Linked DNA regions of Homo sapiens: region 2 is linked to region 1. The links are contacts of gene promoters, found by promoter capture Hi-C in human tissues and cell types (Jung and others, 2019). All regions are on one chromosome and are shown on one strand. The core of a region is centred on a gene start or on the middle of the fragment in contact, and the rest is flanking DNA. Distances in the headings are between cores, read along the strand shown. Region 1 holds the start of SUSD2 (sushi domain containing 2). Region 2 overlaps SPECC1L (sperm antigen with calponin homology and coiled-coil domains 1 like).

The links. Contacts are between HindIII fragments. The study calls those that stand out against the background at their distance.
Region 2: a contact is called between a fragment that was not itself captured here and the fragment with the promoter of SUSD2 in region 1, in 2 of the 25 tissues and cell types used here (aorta and pancreas).

What each region holds. Positions count from the first base shown.
Region 1 is chr22:24,177,578-24,185,316 of GRCh38, forward strand. It overlaps SUSD2 (sushi domain containing 2), which reads left to right and starts at 3,910. Exons shown (of 15, transcript NM_019601.4): 1 at 3,910-4,018; 2 at 5,480-5,690; 3 at 5,918-6,069; 4 at 6,559-6,726; 5 at 7,189-7,363; 6 at 7,517-7,718. The coding sequence starts at 3,943. CABIN1 (calcineurin binding protein 1) reads left to right here. Exons shown (of 37, transcript NM_012295.4): 36 at 1-240; 37 at 476-1,051. The coding sequence ends at 619. RefSeq lists enhancers at 5,880-5,959, 6,030-6,139. The HindIII fragment of the contact is 36,064 bases long and covers 1-7,739 here.
Region 2 is chr22:24,285,093-24,292,831 of GRCh38, forward strand. All of the region lies in intron 2 of SPECC1L (sperm antigen with calponin homology and coiled-coil domains 1 like), which reads left to right. All of the region lies in intron 2 of SPECC1L-ADORA2A (SPECC1L-ADORA2A readthrough (NMD candidate)), which reads left to right. Among named protein-coding and RNA genes, the nearest start is that of SPECC1L, 18 kb to the left of the region's middle. RefSeq lists a silencer at 7,029-7,323. The HindIII fragment of the contact is 4,170 bases long and covers 2,445-6,614 here.

The DNA of each region.
Region 1 (7,739 bases), core at 2,660-5,159:
TCTCCCCCAACAGCTGCCAGCTCCAAGGCCCCCAGCAGTGGGAGTGCCCAGCCACCAGAGGGTCACCCAGGCAAGCCTGAGCCCAGCCGGGCTAAGTCCCGCCCCCTGCCCAACATGCCAAAGCTGGTCATCCCCTCCGCCGCCACCAAGTTCCCCCCTGAGATCACCGTCACGCCACCCACCCCAACCCTGCTCTCCCCCAAAGGCAGCATCTCGGAGGAGACCAAGCAGAAGCTGAAGGTGACCTCAGGGGCTGGGCTGGAGCCATGTGTGGGTGGGAGGCATAGGTTACAAAGGGGGCCTAGGATGGGGGTGGGGGTGGCAGGAGGGCCTGGGGTGTGGGTGAGGATGGCATAGGGGCCTGGGGCAGGGGTGAGGGTGGGAGGGGGGCCTGGGGCAGGGGTGAAGGTGGCAGAGGGGCTTGGGGCAGAGCCCAGCCATCCTTGACCAGTGCCCCGCCCGGCCCTCTCCGCAGTCAGCCATCCTTTCTGCCCAGTCTGCTGCCAACGTGAGGAAGGAGAGCCTATGCCAGCCAGCCCTGGAGGTCCTGGAGACATCCAGCCAGGAGTCCTCGCTGGAGAGCGAGACAGACGAGGACGACGACTACATGGACATTTGAGGGGCCACTGCAGCCCCACCGCCACGCCCCAGGGGACCAGCCAGGCCTGGAATGCCCCCTGGGCAGGACCCTGGGCAGGACCAGAGGCCCACATGGATGCCACTCCCCACACAGCCCCCAGGCCTGCCCAGCCCACCTCCTCATGGCATCCTCCCTGTACCCAGGTCAGGCTGTCCACACCACATGGGAGCCCAGAGGAGGAGGGGCCCGCCTTAGCCATGTGAAGGTGGATTGGTCGCCATCTGCACGCCAGGCGGCATCCTTTTCTATGAAGTGTTGACTTTGTAAATCTGCCCACACCCAGCTGGCCATATCCACCCCTCGACGCCGGGATGAGCCGGCTCTGCCTGTGTCACAGTGGAGGGGTCCTTTAGGGCCAGGCTCACCCCTCACCCTTTTTTTGGTTGCTTTTCTAATAAAGATGGAACAGTTGTCTTTGCCTCTTTGCTCACCTCTAGGGGGCAATCTGGCAGAGTCTCTGGCGGAGAGTTGCTGTCCCCAGGGATTCTGGGCCTTTACTGCCATAGTCCATAGGGCAGGGCCTAGCCCCCCTCCTTCTCCAGCATCTCAGGGACCAGCCAGGCAACCAAAGCAGCGGCTGGGGGTGCCCAGTGGGGTAAGGAGAGAGCCGACTCGGGGCTGGGCCAGGCAGACGCCTCTAGTGCAGCTGGAGCCAGGCTTCAAAGGGGAGTTAGGTGCATCCCCAGAACGCACCTGGGTGCCAGTGGGTGGGAGGCTGTACGGTGGGAGGGCAGGCAGGGCTGGGGCAGCTGAGAGGCTGGGAGGAGGGGGCTGTCAGGGAGGGAAAGGGGGGATGGGGCCGGCAGGGAGGGTACTTAACTCCCATCACAGTCGCCCTAATGGGGCCAGTCACAGAATAGCTGGGCTCAGTGCAAGACATAAATATGAAGCTCCTTGATCAAAAAGGATTAAGGATTTTTTTTTTTTTTTTTTTTTTTTTTTGATATGGAGTCTCACTCTGTCTCCCAGGCTGGAATGCAGTGGCACGATCTGCAGTGGCACGATCTCAGCTCACTGCAACCCCCGCCTTCTGGATTCAAGCGATTCTCTTGCCTCAGCCTCCCGAGTAGCTGAGATCACAGGCACACGCCAACACGCCCAGCTAATTTTTGTATTTTTAGTATAGACGGAGTTTCACCATGTTGGCCAGGCTGGTTTCAAACTCCTGACCTCAAGTGATCCACCCACCTTGGCCTCCCAAAGTGCTGGGATTACAGGCCTGAGCCACCACCATGTCTGACCAAAAATGATTAAGGATTTTAAGGCAGGCCCCACAGAGCATTAAGCCCCTAGAGCTGGCACCCTTCACAACTCTCTTCCCCTCCCAGCACCGCAGGGGCCCTCCTGGCCCTGGGACCTCCCATGGAGCAGGCTCTCTGTCCAGGATGGAGATGGGGACCCTCCTCACTGCCCTGTGCCCCTCATGGGCTGGACATGCCCACCACCCAGGAGGAAAGGCGTAAAGGGCTGGGCACCGCCCTTTTGGAACCAGAGGCTTGGTGGCCCCAGATGGGTCTGGCTGAACCCGCCTTTCGGGGGGCTGAGATAAGCCAGCCCCAGTTACTCAGCTGACGCCCCCTCCCTGCAGGGCCTGGGGTATGGAGCTTCCCAGACTGCACACCTAGCCCCTACCGCACTTCCATTGTCTCCAGACACGCGCAGCAACGGTGCCCAGGCCAAAAACAGGAAGCAGCAGCTCTCCCTCCTCCAGTTCCCGGGAACTGTCTCAGCCGATCCCCCAGCACCCCTCCCTGGAGCCTCACCTATAGGAGGACGGACACCTCGGACCCTCCCCTGCACCCAGTGCTGTAGGGAGCAACTTCAGCCCTGGGCCTGGGATGAATGCCCTCGCCAGCCTGGGGCCAGGAGACAGGCTCTCCCTGGCTCAGCACCTGAGCGTCCACTTACAGGACACTCACCTGCAGAGGTGCCCTGAGCGCCATTGTGGGTTAAGGGACTTTCTCCCCTCTGGAGACAGTCCCTGAGAAGCTGAAGGTCTTGGGGGCCTCTCACCAAATGTCTTTGGGAGGTGGGAAAACATCAAATGCGGGTGTGGCTTCCCTGGAACAGCTCTGTGTGGGGACTCAGGAGCCAAGTCCCCCAGCACACGCCTCTAACACTTTCAGTAGGGGCCACCTCTCTGGAGCCACGGGTGGCTGCCAACACCCTGTGGTTCCCAGCAGGCACCACCCAGGCAAGAGAGAGAACAGGCCGGGGAACAATGGGCTGGCCTGGCCGCAAGCGCTGGGGCAGATCACAGACCGGATGGCCTAAGCTCATGCCCTGGGGCCACCTCTGACTCCCTGCAAGTGTGGCAAGGGTCCCTTTTGGACACCTTGAGAAGCTGCAGCTGGGAGAGGACCACCCGCCTGTCTGGATGTCCAGCCCAGGTGTCAGGGTCCAAATGACCAGTCCCAGGCCGCAGCCCTTACCACCCGCCCTGGCTGCAGGGGCTCCCAGAAGCCACCAAGGGCCTGGCTCGGCCTTGCCTATCCGCATCTGAGCTTCAGTTTCCTCATCTGCTCAAGAAGGGAGGTGAATACTGATTAAATTATGCAAACTCTTAGCGGCAGGATTAGGTGTGGCTGGGACAGCCAAGGCTCCCCAGGGTGGTGGCATCTCTGGAGCCCGGGGATGGGCCCTGTCTCCCTTCCGGGCCCCCCGCTGGGCTTGGGTACCTTCTCTCCCCTTCCTCCTTCCTCCCTCCAGAGGGGACCCCTGCAGAGCTGCCTCCGCCCCAGGGCTCAGCCTGTGTCTGACCCAAACAGCTCCTGCCTCCCCCTGAGGATGAGTTGGGTGCACCTCCTTCCTGCAGGAAGATGAGGGCTAGAGATGGAGGTCTATGTCAGGGCCACAGAGTCTGGAATCCTCCCTGGAGCTAAAACAGCCCTGCCTTATTCACCCTGCGCATCCCATCCTCTGCTTCAGCCCCGCCGGGCTCGCCCTGCATGCAAGGCGGGGCTGGGACCCAGGGTCTGAGCTTCGCCCTCTGGACATCCGGCTCATCGCCTGCCAAAGGTCCTGTGGCTGGAGGCTCCGGCCTCCTCACCCTCCCACAGGGTCCCAGGGCCGATCCAGGCCTGCGGGCCAGGAATGTGCTAACGGGGCAACTTGGGCCTTGCTGGTCCACGCAGGCACCTGTGGACTTTGAGAGGGGACTGGGTGGGGAGGGGCGGGGAGGGGCGGGGCGGGGCGGTGCCGCAGAGTGCAGGGCGGGCGGGGCCAGGCCAGCAGGGAGTGAGCTTGTCTGGCCGCCTCGCCTCGGAGCCACTGCACTGCTGGCTGCAGACACAGGCTGCACCATGAAGCCAGCCCTCCTGCCCTGGGCCCTGCTGCTGCTGGCGACAGCCCTCGGCCCGGGCCCCGGACCCACAGCAGGTATGCCTCCCTGCCCTTCTGTGTCCCCGTCTGTCTGTCCATCTGTCTGCAGCCAGGCCTGGGCTGACATCCCTCTGGGCTCAGCCTCTGTCCATCTGTCAGGCCATCTGTGGCTGTGCTAGGGGTGATGGGAAGAAATTCTGAGGGTCCATGTGGAGGGGCAGCCCATGGGGATGGGAGGTCTGAGCCGGGCCCACCCTAAACCTGCTGGTAGCTAGGAGGGAGGCGGGGGAGACCAGCAGAGGCCTCCGCCTGTGTCCCCAGCCCTGACAGGGCGGGATCACGGAGGGGGAGCCAGGATTGTGGGTCCTCATCAGGGTGGGGCTGAATCCAGGAAAGTCTAGGGAAAGCCCCGAACTCCAGAACCAGGACACTGGTCCCAGGCTGCCCCCCGTCCCCCACCCCATTTCCCATCGACCCTCTTGCCACTTATCTCACTTGCAAGCATCTCTCGGCCTCCTCCCCCGACCCCTGTGCGCCACCAAATCCTTGGCCAGTACATATTTATTGTTGCTTTTAAGTGCCAGGCACTGCACTTGGTGAAGTGGGGCCAGCGGGGTGGCTCAGGCCCAGGCCTGGCCCTCGACTGGCCTCTTTTGATGGGGGATGGGGAAGGGCCAGGGAAGTGCAATTCCAGCCTGGGTGCATGCACCTGCCCCAGTCCCTCCCTGCAACCCTTCCTTCATGCCAGCCCCTGGAAATATGGCCTTGCCCACCGGTCTTATGGCCCATAGGAGAAGTTTTGGGCCCGGCGCCCACAGCCCCTTGTGGTGTGCACCCCCACTTCCCTTTCCCCACTGCTGGGACCCCTGCTTGAAATGTCCCTCCTCTCCCCAGAAAGGAGGGGAGCGGCCCTGGCCTTCTGCCCTGAGCACGGAGCTCTCTTTGGGGTCTCAATTGCAGCCCCTGGGAGAGCGAGAAGTGTCACGTTCAGACCCTGCACCATTCCCTACCAGGCCTCAAATGAGACTCTTGGCAGCCATATCCCCCACCCCAGTCCAGGCAAGCAAGAGGGGTTCTTCTGCAGGCTTCAGGGCCCCCAGAAGGCGTGCTGACCACAGACACCCTGGGGAGCCAAGAGAGGTCGAGGGCTCCAGCTACCGTGGCCCACTGAGGACCCCTGCCTGTGGGATAGAGGACTTGGTGGCTGAAGGGCAGTCATGCCCAGGGGCTTCTCCTGACCCTGCAGGGCTGAGCGGATGCAGCTTTTTGCCTCTTCTCGCTGCATTCTAGCCCGTCAGTCAGGGCAACAGCCAGATGGTCTGTGCTAAGATTCATCCCATCCCCACGGGCCCTGTGGCTTTCTACTGTGTCCACCTGGTGGCCTGTGCAGTTCCTGGCCAGCGTTCTCCTGGGGATGCTGCTGTCTAATGGGCTGTGGGAGAAACAGAGACAGGCCCTGCACATGGGGCAGCCAGTCCAGTACCCGCCGGGCCAGGCCCTCAGCATCCTCTCCTCCAGATGCCCAAGAGAGCTGCTCCATGCGCTGTGGCGCCCTGGACGGGCCATGTTCCTGCCACCCGACGTGCTCTGGCCTTGGCACCTGCTGCTTGGATTTCCGGGACTTCTGCCTGGAGATATTGCCCTACTCAGGATCCATGATGGGCGGCAAGGACTTTGTGGTGCGGCACTTCAAGATGTCCAGCCCCACAGACGCCAGTGTGATCTGCAGGTTGGGAGGCCCAGGAGGCCGGGCACTGGGGCCCCACGCCCCCATCCCTGTGCATGCTGAGGGCTCAGACCCACTGACTGGCTGAGTGGAGCCCCTCGGACCCAGGACAGGCAGGAGGGCACAGGGACAGCTGGCTGGTTGGGTTCCCCAGGGAGGTTGGGGGCCCAGACCATCGAGAGGCTCAGCCTGCAATGACCCAGCCCCTCCCACCACCACCACGCCCACAGGTTTAAGGACAGCATCCAGACCCTCGGCCATGTGGACTCCTCCGGGCAAGTGCACTGTGTGTCACCTCTGCTCTATGAGAGCGGCCGCATCCCCTTCACTGTGTCACTGGACAACGGCCACTCCTTCCCTCGTGCGGGCACCTGGCTGGCTGGTGAGCCCTCCTCCCTGCCCACAGCCTGCCCCCACGGGGACTTTCCCCAGCGCTAATCTATGCACACCGAGACTTGGCCTGTCCGTGCCCTGCCTCTCTGGCTGAACCAGTCCCTTGGGAGGCCTGCCCGCCTGCGAGAGTTCCTTCAGCTCCTTTCCACTCCCTGGCATCCAGACCGCGGTCCCAGCCCAGAGTGAGTGGGAGCTGCAGGGGTCCCTAGAGAGGTGGGCCAGTGCCTATCCACTGAGCTCCGCCATGCCAGGGCAGGGGAGAAGCCAGGTCGAGGCTAGAGGCGTGGGCAGTGGAGGGAGGGCAGGCCCCTGCCTCTGCGGCCTCAGCGTCCTTTTCTGCTGTGCGGGCCAGAGAGACCATCACCCAGCTGCTGCCATGCATTGGCCCTGGAGGCTCCCACAGCCCTTGAAGCCTCAGGGCCTCCTCCCTGCTTCCCTGGGCCCAGGCCCTCACTCACCCCTCACCTCCCCTGCCCAGTGCACCCCAACAAAGTGTCAATGATGGAGAAGAGCGAGTTGGTGAACGAGACGCGTTGGCAATACTACGGCACCGCCAACACCTCAGGCAACCTCAGCCTGACCTGGCATGTCAAGTCGCTGCCCACGCAGACCATCACCATCGAACTGTGGGGCTACGAGGAGACAGGTGAGGCCAGCTGAGGGCTGGGGTGGCATCAGAGCTTTGGGCCCCCAGAGGGGGAGAAAGGGGGTCCCAGCTGTGTGGGAGGAGGAAGGGAGTTTCCAGGTGGGGTTGAGGAGGGAAGGGAATTCCAGGCAGAGATTGAGGATTCGGATGGAGGGAAGTGCAGGTCAGGGGGGTCAGGCAGGTGGGAGGGGGCAGCTCATGGGGCCTGGCTCCAGGGGAGGAGGCTCATGAGGAACCCCTGCACGGCTGGCATGGCCCTGGGCCCAGCTTCCAGCAGGGACAGGGATCCTGGAGTGTGGCAGGAGGTGATGGTCACCCAAGCCGGGGTCCCTGCTAGAACAGCCCCTCCTAAGGGGACCGCCTGGCGGTCCATCCACCCATCTGTCAGGCTGCTGTAGGTGGCAAGGCCTGGGGCCAGGCCTCGAAGGAACCCCAGGGCTAACCAGGCATCCTCTCCCTCAGGAATGCCCTACTCACAGGAGTGGACTGCAAAGTGGTCGTACCTGTACCCCCTGGCCACACACATCCCCAACTCCGGCTCTTTCACTTTCACCCCAAAACCTGCTCCTCCCAGCTACCAGAGATGGCGAGTGGGTGCACTTCGGATCATCGACAGCAAAAATTACGCAGGGCAGAAGTAAGAAGGCATGGATGTGCAGGTGATGGCTGGAGGGCCTCGCCGCCCGAGGCCCATCATGCTTGCCTGGGCAGCCCAGGCTGGGGGTGGGGAGAGTGGGGCGACCATGGGGTGGTGTGGGCTGGCCCAGCTCCAGCATCATCACCTCCACAGGGACGTGCAGGCGCTCTGGACCAACGACCACGCACTGGCCTGGCACCTGAGCGATGACTTCCGAGAGGACCCTGTGGCCTGGGCACGAACTCAGTGCCAGGCCTGGGAGGAGCTGGAGGATCAGCTGCCCAACTTCCTGGAGGAGCTGCCGGACTGCCCCTGCACCCTGACCCAGGCCCGGGCTGACTCCGGCCGCTTCTTCGTGAGCCTCCCATCAGGGCCC
Region 2 (7,739 bases), core at 3,280-5,779, 110 kb after region 1:
TTGGGTGACAAAGTTTGTAGTTGTCTAGAAGAACCTCTGAAGTTTCTCTGCTTAAGTCGGAGTGGAAGCAGCCCTGGGGATTGTAGTGGAAAGGGAGAGCTATATGTCTACTAGTACTGTGACAAGATAGAAGAAAGTAAGTTTAGGATAAAGGGAAATTTGTCCTTCTGGTTGTAGTGGGAAGGAAAGGAGATGGATGCTTACTGTAATTCTGTGGGCTGAGCATTTTCCTTGTTAGTTTCCACACATCGTTTGATGTGGTTCTTATAGCATCCTATGTGTTAGCTGTTTCTACTTAAAGATGAAAGACCGAAATTTGGAGATGAGTAATATGCCCAGAGCCAGATAACTAATAAGTAGTGGAGTTGTTAGCATTTGAACGCATATTCTACCCAACCAGTCTGAGTTCTTTCCACTTGGTATGTAAATTCATGAATACAAGCCAGCAAATGTCCCAGGCTGCTCCTATTCAAAGAGCTGCCTTCTGTGTATCACGTGGTCTATGTTAAGTGTTATGATCTAAAACAATACTGCTGTTTTTTTTTTTGTTGTTTTGTTTTGTTTTTTTTGAGACGGAGTCTTGCTCTGTCGCCCAGGCTGGAGTGCAGTGTCGCGGTCTCAGCTCACTGCGACCTCCGCTTCCTGGGTTCAAGTGATTCTCCTGCCTCAGCCTTGAGTAGCTGGGATTACAGGCACCCACCACCAAGCCCGGCTAATTTTTGTATTTTTGGTAGAGACGGGGTTTCACTATGTTGGCCAGGCTAATCTTGAACTCCTGACCTCATGATCCGCCCGCCTCAGCCTCCCAAAGTTCTGGGATTACAGGCGTGAGCTACCGCGCCTGGCGCGCTGTTCTTTTTTGAAAAGAAAATCTTGATTTTGTGTTTTGAAGTCCTTAAAAGCGATTGTTTATTTAAGCTAAAATAATCAAGTTACTCATTTATTCAGTAAATCAGATTCGACAGGCAACATTCTCAGAGGCATGTATATGTGTGTAGGGCTTTGGTGATTTTTTGGTGATGTTTGTAACCTAGAATATAGTTTCGAAGGCTTAGATTTAAGACTTCCATCTGATAAAGTGGGGGTAAGCTGCAGTGAAATCTGCATGGTAGTCTATTCTTGACACTTGCTGTTAGTAGTAACCTTTTACTGAAAGTCAAAGTTTGCTTATGTCTTACAGTACTGTTCTGAAAGTTTACTTTTTAAAAATGAGAATGAAATATTGGGAAGAAACATCATAGTTATTTTACATATTCTGTTTTTTTAGTACCTGATTGGTTATGTTATATTGACATTCTCGCATGTAATTACACTTTATTGCTTGAACTTGCAATACATTGCTCCTGAGATAAAGACATAGGTGAAGCTTATCCTAAGTTGGTAACAGCAAAATTATTGTATTAATAATTGAGTCATATGGTGTGTTTCGGCATTTTAACAAGGAAGTATGGACCATGACATTTTGAATTTGAAAGGAAGTACTTTTTACTGCTTTCCTCTTTTTCTGTCTTATATCTTTGTCCTACCACTAAGAAGTGAGTAAAGTTCTAGACTCAGTTATAGGATATCTTAATAACAGGCCGTGAACTGTGTCACTGATTAACTGACCTATCTAGTAAGAGTTAGGATTTACTTCTGACATTCATGTACTTTTTGCAGTAATTCAGGCTATTCACATCATAGCTTTGCTTTTGTCTGTTTTTCAAGTAAGAGGCTGAGGCAGAAGAATCATTTGAACCCTGCAGGCAGAGGTTACAGTGAGCTGAGATCGCGCCACTGCACTCCAGCCTGGGCTACAAAGCGAGACCCTGTCTCCAAAAAAATGAAAATTAAAAATAAGTAAATGTGAATTTCAGATAAATAGTGATGACTTTTTTGGTCTAAGTATACCCTAAATGTTGTCTGGATAAAAGACACTTAGGTGAGTGCTGTGGCCAGAAAGGTAAGAGGGATGGGGGGCCAACCAACTAGAGACAAGGGAAGGTATCACTAAGGACACGGCAGTGGAGCTGAGTCCTGAAGTGATGCACGAGCAGTTATTTCTCAGGGAGGAAAGTGGTAAGGGGTTTTCAGGGGTAGGAACAGTAGGAGCCAAAGTGTGGGTATGTGAGAGTGTGTGACTATGTGTGCACGTAAAATGGAAATGAGATGGAGGGATGGGTTGGAGCCTGGATTTGAAGAAGCAGGTATCGGCGCTGGGGTATTTGGCCTGGGACAGTGAGGCATTATTTTACAGGAGAGTGGCCTGGTGGGATGTGTGCTTTAGAGTGTGGACACACAGCTGTGGCACAGAAGGATTGCTGGCAGGGGAGGGCGACAGGAGGCTGCCAGAGTTGTCCAGCTGGACTTCTTCCCTGACACAGACAGGCTGGCATAGGATTGGTGTGGTAGTGGGGATGGGAAGGAGGGAATGCCGCGAGGTCAGGAACTTCTTCCAGTCGCCAAGAGGCGTCTTGACCGTTTAAAAATGTCTCTGAAGATTTAGCACACCAAGGCCCCCTATAGTCCCAGGGTATAGGCCACCCTTGAGATTAGAAAGAAACCCCTGGGAGCTGTGGTGGGGTGGATGTGGCTGTTGGAGGTGCCCCTATTCAGACTCCTGCTCTACCATTTGCTTCGGGATCACCTTTTACAGTGGATCTGATATTATAATACCCACTTCTTATGATGTAAAGGAACTGAATGAGTGTGGAATCCCTAGGACCCCGCTGGAATATAATGGGCCCTCGGGGTTTAGTTTCTTTCCTTCTTGCCGGTGAGGTTTGAGAGGGACTGGAGAACAGTGGATTTCGACCATCCATTTGGGGTTGTCAGTCTGTGCCAGGCCAGCTGGAAACTACAAAAAGGAGGTACAGGTAAGCAATAAGGCCCTGTGGTTCATCTCAGATTTCATTCCGGGAGATCAGAGAGAGCCCTTCCTGGAACTGTATCCTTTCCTGGGGAATATGGGTGGAAATCCAAGGGCCCTGTGCATAGATTTTCCCTTCTCTTTCAGCTCTGCCAGCTGCCAGAACTGTGGCTTTCTCAGCAGATTGTCTGTACACATGAGACCTTTTTTACGGAACGATTTACAGAAAGACAAACCCTTCCTTCCAAGTTTAACCAGTCCCCTTATACCAAGGTTTCCCAGCCTTGACTGTATTGATATTTTAGGCTGTATAATTCTTTGTCGTGGGGGGCTGTCCAGTGTGTTGTAGGGAGTTTACTAGGATTCCTGGCCTCTTACACACTCACTGTCTGTAGCACCTTGCCTCCCACCCAGTTGTGACAACGAAAAATGTGTACAGGAAGTGCCAAATATCCCCTAGGGTACAAAATTGTCCCCTACCCCTCATTAAGTACCACTGCTTTATACTCACTAGACACAGGGAAAAAGAACTTCTTAGCATTTTTTATTAATTTCTTTTTAACCTAACCAGTGAAATGCTTGTTGAAAAAAAGACTTAGTTTTTACTACACTGAATTTGAATTCTATTTTAACTTATTTAGTTTAGAAAGACTTCTCAAATCCAAAATTTTAAGCTTTTTTTTTTTTTTTTTTTTTTTTTTTTTGGACATATCCTTGCTCTGTTGCCCAGGCTGGAGTGCAATGGCGTGATCTTGGCTCACTGCAACTTCTGCCTCCTGGGTTCAAGCGATTCTCCTGCCTCAGCTTCCTCAGTAGCTGGAATTACAGGTGTCTGCCACCACACTTGGCTAATTTTTGTACTTTTAGTAGAGACGGGTTTTCACCATGTTGGTCAGGCTGGTCTTGAACTCCTGACCTTGTGATCCGCCTGCCTTGGCCTCCCAAAGTGCTGGGATTACAGGCGTGAGCCATTGCTCCCAGCCAATTATAAGCTTTTTAGAAAGGATTTTTTACATTGTTATATTTGAACCATTAATGAAGTGCAAAATGAAATGTTTCATTTAGTATTTCACATCAGAGGTTGTTATAAATGTACAAATAGATTGATGTTTTGAATTAAAACTATGGCTGACAGTTAATTTTATCGATACCAAATTGTGCAAGTTTAAACTGCCTGCCAAGAGTCTGAGCATAAAGCTGTGGTTTGAAAGGATCCTGAATAAACGTTTTCTTTTTGTAAATATTCAGAAACTTTGGCTAAGGAGGTAGTGGCCAGAGGAGACGCAAAATTTTTTGCATTCTGGCAGTTTGAACTTTGGGAACGAATGTGTTTTGGACTAAATCTGGAAAAATCACTTATGTACTGTTGCCAGACATTCTTTTAGGCTGTCCTTTTCCAGGCTTGTCACTTGTCTGGAATGTTAAGTGTTGTCAGTAGTTTAACGTCCTTTCCAGCAGCTTGCATTAAAGTGAGAGAAGATCTCCAGAAATGGATCTGAAGAGGTCTTGGCATAAGATTAGGACTTTTATTTCATTATTTTTTAAAAAGTAGAAAGAAGGAGAAGACTTACATGGTTCTAAGTTTAAAAAAATCCAGGAAGCTTCTAATCGTTTCTAATTATTTTCTTGGGTTAAGCCTCATAGAATAATAGAAATCATAAGTTAGTGTGAGTGAGCTTTTCGTTGGCCAAAACAAGTGGGAATACAGTTGTGCTGTTTAGTGGCCATTTGAGTTGGTATTACTGATAACTACCTCCTTTTTTTTTTTTTTTAGCATCCTATGTGTAGTTGTGGTTGGTCTAGCATCCTATATGTAGTTGTGCTTGCTTTCCTCTCTAACCAAAGTTTGTTTTTCCTTTCTGTCCACGTGGGGTTATTATGAGAATCAGTGCCCTAGTATTTGTGCAGTGTGGGCTTTCCACATTGTCTGGCTGGTGCTTTCCAGGCAGCTTACTTTCATAGTTAAACGACAATGGCAACATCAACAAAGTGTCTCTGCCTCCTCATTACCCCCGGCTCTCTCCCCTTCACACATTTTTGAGATGTTCTTTATCCTTTTCTTTCCTACTCAGCTTTTTATTCCACTCCACTGCAGCATGACTTGGCCTCCATCCCTCCACTGGGGATTCATTGGCCCTGCTCACCATCACCTCCTTATCTTGATTAAAGTGGCCACTCAGGCGTGACTGAGCAGTCTTTCTCCTGTGGATTCACCTTGAGACTTTCTTAACTGGTTGGACAGGCAGAAAGGAGGGAATTGTGAGAAGAACTGGGTTAAAGCAGAAAGGAGCTGCATTTTCCTTCCGTGGCCATGAGGCTGTTTAAGGGGGAGTGCCTACCTGGAGTGGGGAGAGGACATAGAGTACAGTTTCTTTCGTCCTGGAGTTGGAGGTAGAAACAGGGGAGGTAGATCTGGATGCCATCTTTCCTCATAAGTCATAACCGATATCGTTGATTCCTGGAAATGGGAAACTACCCTGTTAAATGTACTACATGTTACAATTTTAGGCATAGTATAAAATCTGTCTTTAAAAATTAAGAAAGTACTGTCTTATAAAAACAAGCATTTAAAAGTTGTGCCTCAGTCAGTAAGCATTGAAGTTTTTTGAGCAGTACTGGACTTCTGTCTGGATTCAGACTGAGCAGAGAATCACATATCTGAAGGCATCTTACCCCTGCTTCTCTCTCCCTCCTGTCTGTTTCATGCACCTTGAATATATGCCAACTTGCACATGTGCAGTTTTTTGACATGACAAGGCTCAGACTTTCCCTCTTAGTAGTCCTTGACTTTTTCAGTGGAGTCTCACTCCAAGTCTTTAAAATGTGTACATAAAATGCACCTTTCTGAATGTGTGTCATAATTCACCATAAGAAAGGTTATGTATATGTTGAAGAATATAGGATCAATCCATTACATTATGATTTATTTGATTTAAACACTTCTTACTGGGTTTCTTTTGAAAGTTTTGATTGGCTTTTGGTAAGACACATGTTTTATCAAATCGATTGTTGATTTTGCTTCATTTAGCAGCATTCACTTTCTGACTCTGAAGTGGCCCTTTCCCTGAGTTATAGTTTCCCTTGACTGTGTGATTCTTTCTTCTCAGTGTTTTAAGTCTGTTCTTAATTTACAATTTTAATATGATCTCTACATTTTGAAAATGAAGTTTGTGAAATAAGAGAGATAAATATATTTAGATTGCTTAGGTTAAAAACCCTTTTTGGATTTTCAGTGGGTATTGATAGGCATAAAAAGTCATAATTAATAAGCAGTTCCTCTTAAATTGTTTGATTCCGTGTTCTGAAAGTACAGATTATGAAATGAAATTTTCGAACTTCTGAAAGCTACTAATCCACTCTCCTTTATAAACAAGGCTCACAGAGTGTGGGTGACTTGCACAAGGTCACATAGATGGTGCCAGACCTGGGACTGCAATCCAGGTCTCTTGATTTTTGTTCCAGTGTACTCCATACTATGTATTTTCATAATATGTAATTTTCAGTGGGAAAAACCCATAAGCTAATGTTGTTTGTTGACATCTGTGGGCCATGGTATATAATCTAATATAAGTAGTAGGTAAAAACAATCTTTAGTCATTCCTTATAAAGGGTTTCTTTTACAAAGTGTCTTTTGAATTGCTGCTTTTATTTTAATAAGGCAGTAGTCATACATGGGGCATGCAATATATTCTTCTGTAAATTATGATAGCTCATGTTATCTGGTCTTTACTGTGGGCTGCCAGCCTGCTAACCACTTTAGGCTCATTATTTCATTGAATCCTCTCAACATCCTTATAAGGAAGGTACATAGTATTACCAGCCCCCTTTTAAAATGAAGAAACAGATTTCAGAGAGGTTAACTTACCCAGGGATATAGAAGGATACAGATTTGATCATACGTGGTTGGGCAGTCTCCTGGATAGTAGTGTTTTCTTTTTGTTGTTGTTGTTGTTTTTGAATAAGCACAGAGAATTATTAATTAAATAGGAAATTTAAATGGTTTTAAATAGCAGTACATTTTGGAAACATTTGAGGGGAAAAGATTCTAATGGAGGTGAATAGGAGGAACTGAAAGAAGAAAGTAGTGACAGCAATCAAGATCCTGGTGTAACTACAGAATGGAGAGATTGGGGACTGTCCCTGTAGTTGCCAAGAGGGGTTCCCGTCCCACCCTGTGCCAGGGCTGAAGGTGCTTCTCAGCCAGGGAACGGCCTTGGAGCTCTCTTGTGGTATCCAGGACAATTTGTGTTGTCCTCTAATCAGGGTGGATCCTTCTGGATGCAGTATGACAATAAGATAAATTTACAATGTCCTTTTGGTATATTTCTGAAACTTGATTGGTGTGTTTTTCATGGGTGGATGGTTGGTGAGGGTGGGGTTTCTGAACCACTGAAATAAGTTGCTGTCCCTAACCTTGGACTGTTACACCATTTTTCCTTTGACCTTTGATCTGTGATGAAGTAACTTCTGGAAGTGGGATATCAGGAGTTATGTTCTTGTTGGTTTACACATGTTATTTTTTACAAGAACTCTATAAACTAGATTTTATCAGTTCTTTTTTATAGGAGAAGAAACAGATTTGCAGATACATAAAGTGATTAAGTGATTTGTCCAGAGTCACACAACTTGGATGGCAGAACTGGAGCTTGAACTCAGGTCTCTTGACCTTTAAGTTCAGTTCTCTACTCACTGTATGGGAGACCCGGAAGGAGATTCTTTTGGTGTGTCACATAGCCTTACCATTGCTTTGTCCTATGTAACGTCATCAATTATGTGAATTATCTGACATTACAAGAGTCAGAAGGTGTCGTAGAGATGCCTTAGAGTCCAACTTCCTTTTTATTGTAGATGAGAATACTGGGTGGCCAAGTGACTTAGATTGAAGACAGCA